Linked DNA regions of Homo sapiens: region 2 is linked to region 1. Evidence: promoter capture Hi-C in human tissues and cell types (Jung and others, 2019). All regions are on one chromosome and are shown on one strand. The core of a region is centred on a gene start or on the middle of the fragment in contact, and the rest is flanking DNA. Distances in the headings are between cores, read along the strand shown.

Region 1 (6,818 bases), core at 1,825-4,324:
CACAGTCCTGGGCCGGGTGTGGTGGCTTATTCCTGTAATCCCAGCACTTTGGGAGGCTGAGGCGGGTGGATCACCTGAGGTCAGGAGTTCAAGACCAGCTTGGTCAATGTGGTGAAACCCCGTCTCTACTAAAAATACAAAAATTAGCCAGGTGTGGTGGTGGGCACCTGTAATCCCAGCTACTCGGGAGGCTGAGGCAGGAGAATTGCTTAAACCTGGGAGACGGAGGTTGCAGTGAGCCAAGATTGCGCCATTGAACTCCAGCCTGCAAGAAAAGAGAAACTCCATCTCAAAAAATAAATAATAAGTAAATAAATATATATATATATAATCACAGTCCTGTGATAGAAATGCTAAATGAGGAAGGAAAATTTGGTGTCTGCTGGGGCCTTGAATGATGCAATAACTAGCTCATATTTATTGACTGCTTACTGTAAGCCAGTGATTGTGCTAAGTGCTCTATATACATTCTCACTGAATACGCTTAACAGTTCTATGATCATTAGCCCCCTTTTCTTGATAAGACACTGAGCCTGAGAGAGGTTAAGATCACAGAGTTGCCAGGTGGCTAGGGAAAACCCTTGTTTTGACACTACTTTCTCCAAGAAACCTACCCCACCTCAGTTCCCTTCCAGTCCTAATGTTCTGGATTCCACTCATGTGGTCTGCTCCCACTTCCCCGCTCCTCTGCCCTTACAGCCACTTTGCTGGCTCCTCTGGGAGCACAGCTTTCATTTTGCTTTGGGAAATTGCCGTGTTCACCAGCTGTCACCCCTGTTGCTGTGGGGGCTGCTCAGGGGCAGGGGGCTTGTCTGCTCCATCTCTGGTTCAGGGCACAGCACAGAGCAGCTCACGGTGGTTGTTGCTGAACTGAAGCGTGGGCAGAGGCCCTTGGAATGGCTAAAATCTGCTGTTTAGGTTTATGGGAATGTGAAGCCCGTTGTTTAGAAAACACAGCTCTATCTCCACATCCTAAATTGAGAAATGATTTCTGTTATAAGAATCAGCCCAGCACTGGGCAGCTTGCAGTCTAGCTGGGAGCCCAGAATTGCACAAAACAAACCTGAGAATTGTACAGGCTGGATCTAGGGCCTCAAGTGATGTGCAGTGGATTCAAAAGGGGCGTGCAGAGAGGACAGTGAAGGGGGTGTGGGCAGGAGATTCCGAGACTCTGACCAAGATGACATGGGGACAAAGCCCTGTGGATTCAGCCTCCTAAACAGCTTTCTCCTCTGCCCCTCCACCCCATCACCATTAGAGACTCATGGTCATTGTACCCACCCCCACATCTGATTGCTGTACCTGCCTCCAACTGCAGGGCCCTGACTCCTGTCTCCCTCTGATCCATATTCCGCTCTGCTTCCAAGCTCTGGTCTTGGGTACTTTCAACGGTTATTCTGCATTATCCTTAGCTCAGTATCCTTATGGGACAGTCCCAGTCCGCAGGGTAGCCCCGGCTTCTAGGCGGTGGCATCCACATCTGCTCTGCCCGGAGCTGATGCAGGTGCCTCATGGGGGGCGCTCTGGGGACCGCGCAGAAAATTTACGAGCAGTGTGGAAATATACCTGTTGGGTAAAAGACAAACTAGGCGTGTGTTTAAGGCACCAGCAAATGACTATTTAGATTAAGAATTTGTTGTAGAAAATTTTATTGAAGTGATGACTTCCAAATGTGATTTTTGGGGGCATTATACACTTGCTTCGAGGTTTAATCTTCAATCCACATGGCGGGGCACCATAATCTCTGGTGCCCAGGGCCCTCGTCTAGCCCCTGTGAGGCCCTTTGCGGTGCCTCCCTTGCCAGCCCCTCCAGCCTCCGCCGTTTGCCCCCTGGGCTCTCCAGTTTCCACTGCCCCCCTGCCCGAGCGCAGCTCCACTGCTGTGTGACCTGGCGTAAGTCCCTTAACCGCCGTGTGCCTCAGTTTCCTCATTTATTAAAAGAGGAGGTTCCAGTGGTATGTACCCCCTAACGATGTGCGAGCATCACAGAAATGACACGAGACACACACTCAGAACATGCCTTGGCGTGGCAAGTGCTGACTGTTGCCATTATTAGGCTCCCCAGCCGGGGTCTCAGGGCCTTGGCACAAGCTATTCCCTCTGCCTGGAGCACTTTCCTCCACTGACCTTTCCTGGCGCTCCAGGTCAACTCCAGGAGCCTTCCCAGTGCAGTCTAGGTGCCTTCTCCTTCCGCAGCGCCTGAACCACACAGGAATAAGTAAGGCGAGAGCGCGCCCAGGGAAGAGCAGGTGTGCAGAAAGGGACTGAGTCAGTCGAGACGTTTCCGCGGGGATCCTTCTCTTGGCAGGCCTGCACCGGGGCCGTGGGGACTGAGAAGATGTGCACAGGTGGCTCCCGAGTGCTCGGGAAGGGCCCCAGAGCTTCTGGCCCAGCTGGAGGCAGGAGGCGGAGCCTCCTCCGCAAAGCTGGATCAGTACCGGGGACGCAGGGCGCACAGCTAGGGCTGGCGGGGGCGGCCCGACTGGGGCGCTGCCTGGGCTCACGCGGGAGCCAGGTGGGGGACGCAGGGAGAAGCAGCCGAGCAGGTGCCGAGAAGGAGGCGCCCGCAGAAGCGCATGCAGGGGCCACGGGGAAGGCGCCAGGAGGCGGTGAGGGGCCGCGGTGGCCGGAACCCGGGCCGGCTGCTGCGGGCAGAGGAACAGGCCCCACCCGCGGGGCTTGGCTGGCACCGCCCGGCTCTCCAGACGGGGCTACGGCCGCGTGTCGGGCCCGGTGGCGACCACGGCACACCACGGCGAGGCAGCCGGGTGGCACCACTGGCGGGACCGGGACGGCGCCGCGGCCTTAGGATCTCTGCGCCGAGGCCCGCGGCGGGAGCCACGACGGCCCTGACCACGCTGACGCCCAGGCTGCGGGCTCCTCGCCCGGACCAACCGCCAGCCACGCCGAGGTCGCACCTCGGGGTCGCCCCACCCGCAACACCTGCCGCCGCCCGGGGCTCCTAGCGGGCGCGGCCTCCGCGCCCAGGCCCCGCCCCCGCGCCCCCATTGGTCAGTCCCGGGGGTGGGCGGGCGGCACAGACGGCTGAGCCGGGGCAAGGACTCGCGGGAATCGCGCCGCCCGGGTCGCTGCCGGAGCTCGCCGGTCGCCCCTGCGCTGCGCGGACCGCAGCCACAGCCGGACTGGTGGGAACGGCGGCGACAGACGGATTGGCTGACAGTCCCAGCCCTCAGAACAGCCCCGGCCTCGAAGCGTTGGCGTCTGCGTCCGCGTCAGCGTCCGCTTGTCCCGGAGCCGGGGCAGGTGCGCGCGGGGGGCGCTCCAGGGACCGCGCTGAGGCCGCAGACGCCGCCCGCCGAGCCCCGCCCCCTGCTCGCCGAACTCAGCTCCCCGTTCGCCGTCGGGGCGTCCCCGGGCCCAGGGGCGGCGGCGGAGCTGATGTGCGCCCGCTGAGCGCCCCCGGCCCGCCATGGCCGCGCGCCCCGGACCGCTCTGGCTTCTGGGCCTGACGTTGTGCGCGCTGGGCGGGGGCGGCCCCGGCCTGCGACCCCCGCCCGGCTGTCCCCAGCGACGTCTGGGCGCGCGCGAGCGCCGGGACGTGCAGCGCGAGATCCTGGCGGTGCTCGGGCTACCCGGGCGGCCCCGGCCCCGCGCGCCACCCGCCGCCTCCCGGCTGCCCGCGTCCGCGCCGCTCTTCATGCTGGACCTGTACCACGCCATGGCTGGCGACGACGACGAGGACGGCGCGCCCGCGGAGCAGCGCCTGGGCCGCGCCGACCTGGTCATGAGCTTCGTCAACATGGGTGAGTGCGGCCGCCCGCGCGGGGACCCTCGGAGTAAGCTGGCTGCAGGGGAGGGGCGCGCATCCGCGGGCGGTGCCGGGCCCTGGCCGAACGGGGAATCACAGACGGTGGACGCGAACCACAGGGGAGTGGGACCGCCGTGGTTAGGGAAGGTCTAAGGGTCATGGGGGCCCCCTGGGCTGCGGGGTGGTCAGGAGCAGAGTGTGGGGGACTGTGGACTCCCAGGCGCTGCCTTCACCCTGCCCCAGACACACCCAGGAGTAAGAATTAGGTGATGTCTTTGCCCACCTGGGCTGCCCCGGGAAGACAGCCTGGTCCTGGGGAGACAGGTGAGTAAACAGAGGCCGGGATGCTGTCACTGTGATAAGGACAGTACTGAGGAGAGGGACAAAGTTCAGCGTGGAAACCTGTGGTCACATCATCGGAGTGACCAGAGCTGAGTCGCGTGCCCTGAGTCCACAGCAGGCTCTTCCCTGTGCGGAGCCTGGGTGGGGTGCGGCTGTCAGGGGAGCGGCTGGGGAAGGAGCAGACTCAGCTCGCTGGGGCAGGGACTGTGGCCTTGTCACCCTGGGCCCTGCACTTAGCATGTGGCCTGGTATAGGGTGAGTGTCCGGTCCTGTGGAATGGCCCAGTGGGCAGCTGGACCCACTGTGTTCTCCCAGGCAAAGCCGGGCTTTTCCTGTCTGCAAACATCTTGTATCAAACCCTGGAGCTATTTATTCCTTAAGATCTCAGATTTTTCTTTTCCAGTACTAAACTCTTTGGTCTATGCTCGTGTAGTTACTGTTGGTCAGGTCCCCCGTCTGCTTTGCCTCCTGTCTGTGGCTAGTGACAGGCCGGGGTCTGGGAGCCAAGGACCACAGCTCAGCCCGAAGTGGGGGAGCTGTGGGGCTGAGAGCAGGGAGTGGGTACCTGCCCCAGCCACCAGCCTCCCTCCACAGACAGCATCATTAATTCTTCATCCTCCCGACAACCCTGATAACAGCCACGGTCTTCATCCCCATCTCCCAGATGAGGACAGTGAGGTTCAGAGAGGCAGCGCCATGCCTAGGACAGCGCAGCCTCTATGTTGCTGAGCCAGGACAGGCCCAGGAAGCCTGACTGTCCATCCAGGGCTCAATGAGATGACATTTCTGTTGTCAGGTCAGGCTTTCAGGGTGCAGAGAGCTTTCTGAGGAGTCTGGGCTGAGGAACACAGGGTACTGAGCTGCAGCAGGTCTTGTGGGGCCATCAGCCATTTGCTTCCTACACTAGAGCAGAAGAGGGCATGGCCAAGCCTCTGCTTCCCGCAACCCAGAGCTGGTGGTGGAGGCGAGCAGCAGAAGGCAGCCATTCACCATCGCTGAGCGCCCAGTGCCAGGGACAGGACTCTAGCCGGTGGGATCTGTATGCTGCCTTTGTAGTTAGAGGACAGGGTGGGGATGTGGGACAGAGGAGACCATCTGTGAAGCTGGGGCTGGGGCTCTGTCATCAGGACAGGCTGACACTGGGCTCAGGACCAAGAAGAGTTGTGGATGGAGTCGTCCAAGAATGTCCCCAGGGAGCCGCCCATCAGAATGCGTCACCACCCAGCCCACATCCGACCTCCCCTGGCATCCCCTGGGTCAAGGCATGCACAGCCTGGTGGGGCTGTTGCTGTGAATTGGGCAGGGCCCACCCCTCTGTGTGACCTTAGGGAAGTTCCTCACCTTCTCAGCCTTGGTTGCTCCTTATAAAAGGAGGTGCCTGGTGATCTGTCCTCAGGGTTGTTGTGTGATTGGTAGAGGGGCAGGAGTAGAAAGCCTGTGCTGCTCCCCTCAGAGGGTGAACCTGGACCTGGGCACTGTTGGCCTCCCAGCTGTGGCCCAGCCTTAGTGTGGAGGTGACAGGAACATCTCCACATGTCTTGTACACGTGAAACCCAGAAATGAACTCTAAAAGCCAATCAAAGGTGTTTGTACTTATTTTTAAAATGAAAAGTAGCATGTGAACTTTTTCTTTTCTTTTCTTTTCCTTTCTTTCCTTCTTTCTTTCTTTTTTCTTTTTTCTTTTTTTTTTTTTTAAGAGGCAGGGTTTCACTGCATTCCCCAGGCTGGAGTGTAGTGGTGCGATTATAGCTCACTGCAACCTCTAATTCCCGGGCTCCAGCAATCTTCCTCCCTCAGCCTCCCCAGTAGCTAGGGCTACAGTCGCACACCACCACACCCAGATAATTTTTAAATATTTCTTGTAGAGACGGGGAGTCTCACTGTATTGCCCAGACTGGTCTTGAACTCCTGAACTCAAGCAATCCTCCCACCTCAGCCTCCCAAAGTGCTGGGATTACAGGCGTGAACCACCATGCCTGGCCACGTGTGAACTTTCACAGCCTTACAATTCCTCATTTAATTCATGTGAGACTGTTTTGCCAGCCCCATTTCATGCGCTCAGAGAGATTAAATGGCCAGCCCAGGGCCACACAGCACATCCAAGGTGACATCCATGGCTGTGGATTCCAAATCCCAGCTTCTTCCCACACCAGCTCTGAGCACTTCATGAAGACTCGGGGCCTCCAGCGCCGTGGGATTAACAAGCAGATCGTTGTTAGTGGAAGCCCAGGCTGTGGGTGGGCGCAGCCAGCTGTCAGAAAGGCCTTCTTTATTCTGCTGTGCTAACTGCACTAGTAGAACTGTCTCAGAGTAGCTTTAACTGGTAATTACTGAGGCTGGGTGGGGCGGGGTGGGTGGGGGGTGGATAGACACGTACCAGGATGCTCTCAGTGTTTGGAGGCCCCTGAAGGTTGGTGGCCCCAGAGCCACCATGGGATCTAATAGCAGGGTCGCTGTGGTGTCACTGCCCACACCCAGGCTCTCACACCTGCTTCTGCCAGCTCCACCTCTCCTATCAGCCTCATCTGAGTCCTGAAAAGCCAGGCCTGGTGCCCCTAGGGCCCAACTCTTGATGGCAGCCTGTGGGACCCAGAGGGCGGGGCTCTCGCTGGCTTCCCACCCATGGGTTCAGGCCTCCGTGCAGAGCAGGTGCTTTAGGAAGCCAAGCCTGCGTCCTGATGTTCAGAGCCTGCACTGGGAGGCCAGG
Region 2 (6,926 bases), core at 3,267-5,766, 62 kb before region 1:
TATCCTGTGACTTGAGCTTAATAAGTCACATAGATGTCTTTACTTTTATACAGTCCTCAGTTTTAAAATTAAATACCAGCTAATGAGAAATCAATAAGAGAGCTGATCATTTGTTATTGTATCCTTTACATTTCCTAGGTAGCCTATGGCAGTCTTCAAATAATTCCCTCTTCAGTCTTTTTATGTCCACCTGCCCATGACTTGGCTTATTCCTTACCTGAGTTGCAAAGTATGGCTTGCCTATGTTAGTGGAAGAAACAAAATGGAAAGAATTTAACTTACTTGTATTTCCAGATTTGTACTGCTTATTTTCTTTTCTCTCTGTCCATTTCCAGTAATGGTACCATTAGCTTTCCAGTTTCCTAGGCTTAAAACCTCGACTCCATTTTTACTTTTCTTTTTTTAATTTCTCCTTTGTGCCCACATCGATCAGCATGCTAAATTCTGTCTATTTTACTTTACAGTGTCTTTCCTGTCCATCTGTTTCTCTAATTCCCACTCTCCCCTCAGTTCATGACTTACGAGCTCTCACTAGGTGTATAGAGATAGCTTCTTCACTAATCACTCTACCACTAACCCTGGGGCCTTCCCCTTCCCATCCCCCAGCTGCAGATGAACCTTTCTGAAATAAGCCTTTAATCATATCTTTTCAAGCTCAGAGATATTTAATTGACTCCCTGTTAGAATAAAACCTTTAGATTATGAGGCTGACACACTGCCTGCCGTGCTAAGAAGGTGCTTAAAATAAAATATAAACTCTTTAACACACCATTCAAAGCCCTCTATTTGACCCTAACCTACCTTTCTTAGCTTCTACTATTCTTCTCACTCCTTAATATTATAGCTGAAGTAAACTATATTCTGTTCTTTAATATCTTCTGACAATGTCCTAACCCTGTGTCTTATTTTATGGGTTATAATACATCTTTCATGAAATGCTTTTGTCCAGCTCTCTCTCTTCTATAAAACTTACCTTTATTCCTCAATCATGGAATAATTTTTCCTGCCTCTTCACTGCCATAACTCTTTATCTGTACCTTGTATTATGATCATTATTTTATGTACTTACCTTCCTGGTCCATAAACTCCTTAAAGTCATGGTTTGTTTATCTAATGCATATTTTTATGACTCTTTCCTTCTACTTTACTTGTTTCCATCCTCCTAGCCTAATATAGTTTCTGGGCCAATATTTTAAATAGAAACAAATAACAAGAGTAGATATTTGATGCTTCTAAATTATTTTTAGCTCTTCTCCCTAAAAATACCTTTAATCTTATTACAATAAATTCTTCAAATTTTCAGATTCCAAAATCAAATGAGTAAGAAAGACATAAAAATTAGAGGCAATTTTTAAAAAATGAAATTCAAATTTAATAATAATTTTTAATATTGTATGTTTTAGTTGCATTACTTGAAGATATATTTTGAAGGCTGGCATAAACAAACTAGGAAAGAAAGTTTTAGACTTAGATTGCCACTTAAAAAATATGTTTTTCTTTATATTCAAACATAATTGAATTTCCAGTAATCAAAATGCCAACTTTTTTTATTTAAACCACTTCTTATTAAAATAACTTTGTCAGGGCATAACTAGCATAGGACCTGGCGTAAATTAGGTCTTCAGTAAAGGTTTGCTGAACTTAAGTGCATCATATACTCCCAGGCCTCTTCAAATGCCATATCTTAGTCTGTTTTTAGTAATTCAAAGACAACATTATGACCTTTCATTATTAATCTGCATGCTAATACAGTTCTGTGGTTGTTTTCTTGTCTGTTCCTTGTCAGGCTATCTCCAATATCCAGACTTCCTCCTCACTTTGTAATTTGCTGCTTTTATTTTATAGAGTAAAACAAACCACAGGTACTTTGGAAAGTACATCTCTTAGCACTTCTCTGGTCTCAGTGACAGTCATGTATCCCAGGAAAAGCCAAGCTTAGTTATGGATCTTATATTAAATAAGAGTTAAGATTCCAAGTGAGCTATAAAGTCTGTAGTTTTTTTTGTTTGGTTTTTTTTTGGGGGGGGTGCTTTTTGTGTTGGCAAATTCAGCCAGCGTGAGGTTTTTTGTTTGTTTCTTTTTTGTTTTTTTGCCTTAAATCTGGATTCAAAGTTATGTTCTGGGGCTTGAAATTACCAGAAGCCTGACTGGATTTTGGGGAGTTGGGGAGGGAGTTCTAGTTCATAGGCAATATACAGTCTTTACTCTTCAGATATCTTCACTCATAAATGAAGGTAGTAGTGACAGAGAGAATGAAAACAGACAACTTTTTGCCTCCTTTAAACCTTATTTTGGTCAGATGTTCAGGTGATATATATACTACATTCTGTTTTGATTTGTGTTAAATAAGGAGAACATTAGAAGATTTGATTCTACTGTTGCTACTCACCAGGTGATTGGACAAATCTTTCTTTAAGCCTTCTGACTGAACTTTCTCTTTTATAATAGGGGGATAATTATTCTTTTATAATGGGGGATAATTATTCTGTCCACCTTACAAGGTTATGACAGAATGAGAATAAGGTTAATGGTGTGAAATCCTTTAAAACATCGAAATGCTACATAACGTGTGTTCTGTTTACTATTGGTATTTAAACTATACCTGGAAAAGACTATTCTTTTACTGAGTATAGTACTATTACCAGTTTTAATGTGACTTTTCTTCCTGAGCAGCTTGTTCTATATATTTGTGTAGGCAAAAACAGCTGGAAGACATCCTGGTTCTGGCCAAACAGTTCCATGAGACAGCTGAGCCTATTTCTGACTTCTTATCTGTCACAGAGAAAAAGCTTGCTAACTCAGAACCTGTTGGCACTCAGACTGCCAAAATACAGCAGCAGATCATTCGGCACAAGGTAGGGAGTGGTTACAGTAAATGAAAATAGAAAACTGGAATTAGAAATCCTAGAAATGAGTAAACTGCCTGCAGCATTCTAGAGGATGTGTGTTTTGTGGGTTTAACTTAAAATATGGTCAGATTATTAATTGGAAAAGTCACATTCTTGAAATACAAATAGAAATTGACTGATAGGCTACCACCGGAATAAACAGCTTTTGTTCCCAATTTTTATATTATTTTTGCCTTTCAGTCGGTGAGTTTTTTAATTGTTTAATTTGTTGTATCATTTGTTATTCATCATTTTGTGTTTACTTTTCATTTATTTTGTTTCTGTTATTCATTTTTTCCATCTGGATTTCCAGGCTCTGGAAGAAGACATAGAAAACCATGCAACAGATGTGCACCAGGCAGTCAAAATTGGGCAGTCCCTCTCCTCCCTGACATCTCCTGCAGAACAGGGTGTGCTGTCAGAAAAGATAGACTCATTGCAGGCCCGATACAGTGAAATTCAAGACCGCTGTTGTCGGAAGGCAGCCCTACTTGACCAAGCTCTGTCTAATGCTAGGCTGTTTGGGGAGGATGAGGTGGAGGTGCTCAACTGGCTGGCTGAGGTTGAGGACAAGCTCAGTTCAGTGTTCGTAAAGGATTTCAAACAGGATGTCCTGCACAGGCAGCATGCTGACCACCTGGTATTCATGTTTCCATTTTTATTGGTTATGTTATTCTGTTATTTTGTTATTTTGATTCATGTTTCTCTTCATTTATTTTTTTTTCTTCATTACAAACACTTCAACTTTATTTTATACACAAGTGCATAGTTAGTGGACTTGATGCTGACTGCTAATCTGTTTTTGGATGAGTCCATGGAAATACTTATATTTAACAAGTTAAATCAGTAATTCTAGAAGATGGTACAGGGTATATAGTCAGGGGCCATCTGAACTCCAACTCATGATTTACATTATTAGGTGATGGGTCACTAAGATTCTATTTGAGCAGTTTTATGAAAGATAATGTGCTTTAACAAAACCAGATCTATCTGTGTAGTGCCCAGGATTTGATCATACAGTTAAAAAACTTTTAGGATATTTCTGGATTTGTTCAAATTCCGGGGATTCTGTGTCATCTTAATAGAAGAGTTTGCCTTTTTCATTTCATTTTTATGAAATCTGTTTGGGAGAGTAAAAATAGGTAATTTTTCTAATAGTCTGATTCTTTTGCTTCGTCAACTTTAAATATGAAGAGAGTTTTTAACCAGGATTCTGATTTAAGTCAGTCTGTTCTTACTGAATTTCTTCTCTTGAACTTTCTGTTTATTCCTTATTTTGGACACAGTAGACAATTTTGCTCAATTTCACTTCTGCCTTTCTTGGGTTCAGGTTTGGTACCAATAATTGGTAAAGCTGATGTAATTCTAAGTTTTTCTCATCCAGCGCATAGGAAAGCTTGCCTATAGGTATCTGATTTAATTATTTTGAATAGTCAATGGGCTAACCAAGGAGAAGATGAGGGGATCAAATATCTGATGTTTAAATTAAACTAGTATTCATCTCTTTACTTTAAATTTGATCTCTTAAAGGTCTCGCATTTTGTTTCATTTGTAGTGCCACAGTTTCAGGATTAATGGTATTCTTTCCTTTCAGGCTTTAAATGAAGAAATTGTTAATAGAAAGAAGAATGTAGATCAAGCTATTAAAAATGGTCAGGCTCTTCTAAAACAAACCACAGGTACTTTGAAAAGTGTGTCTCTTAGCACCCCTATGGTCTCAAAGACAATTATGTACCCAAGGAAAGGAGTTCCCTGCCTTAGCCTCTTCTTTATGTATATATGAGAAGCTTAGTATTCACTGATTGTATTCCCTACTGTGCTCCAGAAGGTTGTTTCCTGCTAAATCTTTTGAAAACTAAGTTATCTCACATCTGGTTATAGATGATGATTTCTCCTCTCCTTCAGTATCTTGAATGCCAACATGCACTGAAAGGTGCTGGAAACATCTAGAAACACTTGACGCTGAACTCAGATTTTAATAATTCAGAAGTGGCTTCTTTTATCCAGTGGAAAGTTTATTTTATTTCCCATTTGCCCTTAGTATGGGATAGGTGAAATCATTACCACAGAGAGAGAGAGAGCGTCTATGAAATTAAAGCTCTGATTTGAAGAAAGGGGATCAGAGACTCCTCATTCCTAGGTCTCTTAAATATGAGTAATTGTGTGCTATCTTCCATAGGTGAGGAGGTGTTACTTATCCAGGAAAAACTAGATGGTATAAAGACTCGTTACGCAGACATCACAGTTACTAGCTCCAAGGCCCTCAGAACTTTAGAGCAAGCCCGGCAGCTGGCCACCAAGTTCCAGTCTACTTATGAGGAACTGACCGGGTGGCTGAGGGAGGTGGAGGAGGAGCTGGCAACCAGTGGAGGACAGTCTCCCACAGGGGAACAGATACCCCAGTTTCAGCAGAGACAGAAGGTGAGCTGTTACTTTACCATAAAAAGAAAAAAAGGCTTCCTCTTTGTCAGAATCCTTAAGTTTTATCAACCTTTACCTTAAATATAAACTAAAAATATGTGCCCCCTTTCTTGTTTACTCATGGACAGTAAGATTTGACATAAAGACATATACGTTACACATATGTTATGAAGAAGAAAGAAGTTGAATCAAGTTTACTTTGTAACATTTTAACCTCTATTATTTATTCTCTAAAGAGTGCTTCATGGTTTTATTTGATTTCTCTGCAGGATCTAGTATAGTTCTAGATGCATAGAAATATTGTATAGGTACTTGTTAGGTTAAATACTGAGCCTTTGGTTAAAGCATTATTTATCATTTCTGTTGAAGTAAGGAGATGAAAGAAGTATTAGTTGTTTTACCCAGAGACAATGTGGCTCAAAAAGTCTTACAGGCAGTTCTAAGCAAGCAACAATGAAGTCTAAAGTCAGGCTTCAGAATGATTGAAAAATCTGAGATGAGAAAAAAATAACTGAAGGAAGGAGGTCAGAGTCCTGCTGGGATGTGTGGTAGAGATAGCAATTTCCACCCAGCACAGTTGCTGATGTGCTTTATTTAGCAAGGTATGGCCTGAAAACTCTTTTCCCTCCTTAGGAATTAAAGAAGGAGGTCATGGAGCACAGGCTGGTGTTGGACACAGTGAATGAGGTGAGCCGTGCTCTCTTAGAGCTGGTGCCCTGGAGAGCCAGAGAAGGGCTGGATAAACTTGTGTCCGATGCTAACGAGCAGTACAAACTAGTCAGTGACACTATTGGACAAAGGGTGGATGAAATTGATGCTGCTATTCAGAGATCACAACAGGTAATGCTTATAATACCTCTGCATTAATATTTTAGACAGTATTGATGTGTGAGATACAGTACTATGACCCACATAAATACAGACTCAGAAATAAGAATGGGCTCAAGCTAAATCTGGTGGAATAAATATGTTTCATTGATGGGAAATGATTGGGTAGAAGTTTGTGAGGATGGATCCAGAATTTGACCAAAATACTTGACCCCTTTGAGTAGAGAAGTACTTGGAGAAGAGTCTACATGAGGCCTTTTCTTAGCTAATGCCCTGCTAAGAAGGCTGATGGTGATGGGAGTAGATAATATCTAGATTCAAAAGGTCCAAATGCACCACAATCTTAGTTTGACATAATTAACTCTCTTAGCATTAGATGGAAGAGGGGGAAGGAATTACTATCAAATATGCAAACCAAAATAGCAGAGCTATCTAAAATAGAACCTTCTCAGTAAACACAGGTGTCATATTTCCCTTGATCTTTTTTCCTTCCTACTTTCTGGAAAAAAATCATTTGTTCTTTTGTGTAGCTGGATACACACCTCTTAATGTGCCGTAGTACAAAAAATAAGTTAATATAACTCCTTAGGATCATAGTGATGAACATATGCTTTTTGAATCACACAGAAATTTGCTCTGAGTCCAGGTATATCCCCAGTGTGTCTTTAGAGTTATCCCTTATCTTGGCCAGATATTTCAATATGAAATGTATTGTGCTTGGGAGAAGCGTATTTTTAAATGTAAGTGTATATTGGCCAAGTTGAAGAGGAAGAGATAAAAGACTGGAGA

What was found. Contacts are between HindIII fragments. The study calls those that stand out against the background at their distance.
Region 2: a contact is called between a fragment that was not itself captured here and the fragment with the promoter of BMP8A in region 1, in 2 of the 25 tissues and cell types used here (hippocampus and liver).

What each region holds. Positions count from the first base shown.
Region 1 is chr1:39,488,562-39,495,379 of GRCh38, forward strand. It overlaps BMP8A (bone morphogenetic protein 8a), which reads left to right and starts at 3,075. Exons shown (of 7, transcript NM_181809.4): 1 at 3,075-3,764. The coding sequence starts at 3,431. It overlaps LOC124904101 (a long non-coding RNA gene), which reads right to left and starts at 2,987. Exons shown (of 2, transcript XR_007065978.1): 1 at 2,128-2,987; 2 at 1-1,566. RefSeq lists silencers at 2,574-3,203, 3,304-3,403. The HindIII fragment of the contact is 32,682 bases long and covers 1-6,818 here.
Region 2 is chr1:39,424,760-39,431,685 of GRCh38, forward strand. MACF1 (microtubule actin crosslinking factor 1) reads left to right here. Exons shown (of 101, transcript NM_001394062.1): 62 at 2,696-2,855; 63 at 3,202-3,528; 64 at 4,483-4,567; 65 at 5,068-5,309; 66 at 5,943-6,149. Among named protein-coding and RNA genes, the nearest start is that of BMP8A, 63 kb to the right of the region's middle. The HindIII fragment of the contact is 4,311 bases long and covers 2,362-6,672 here.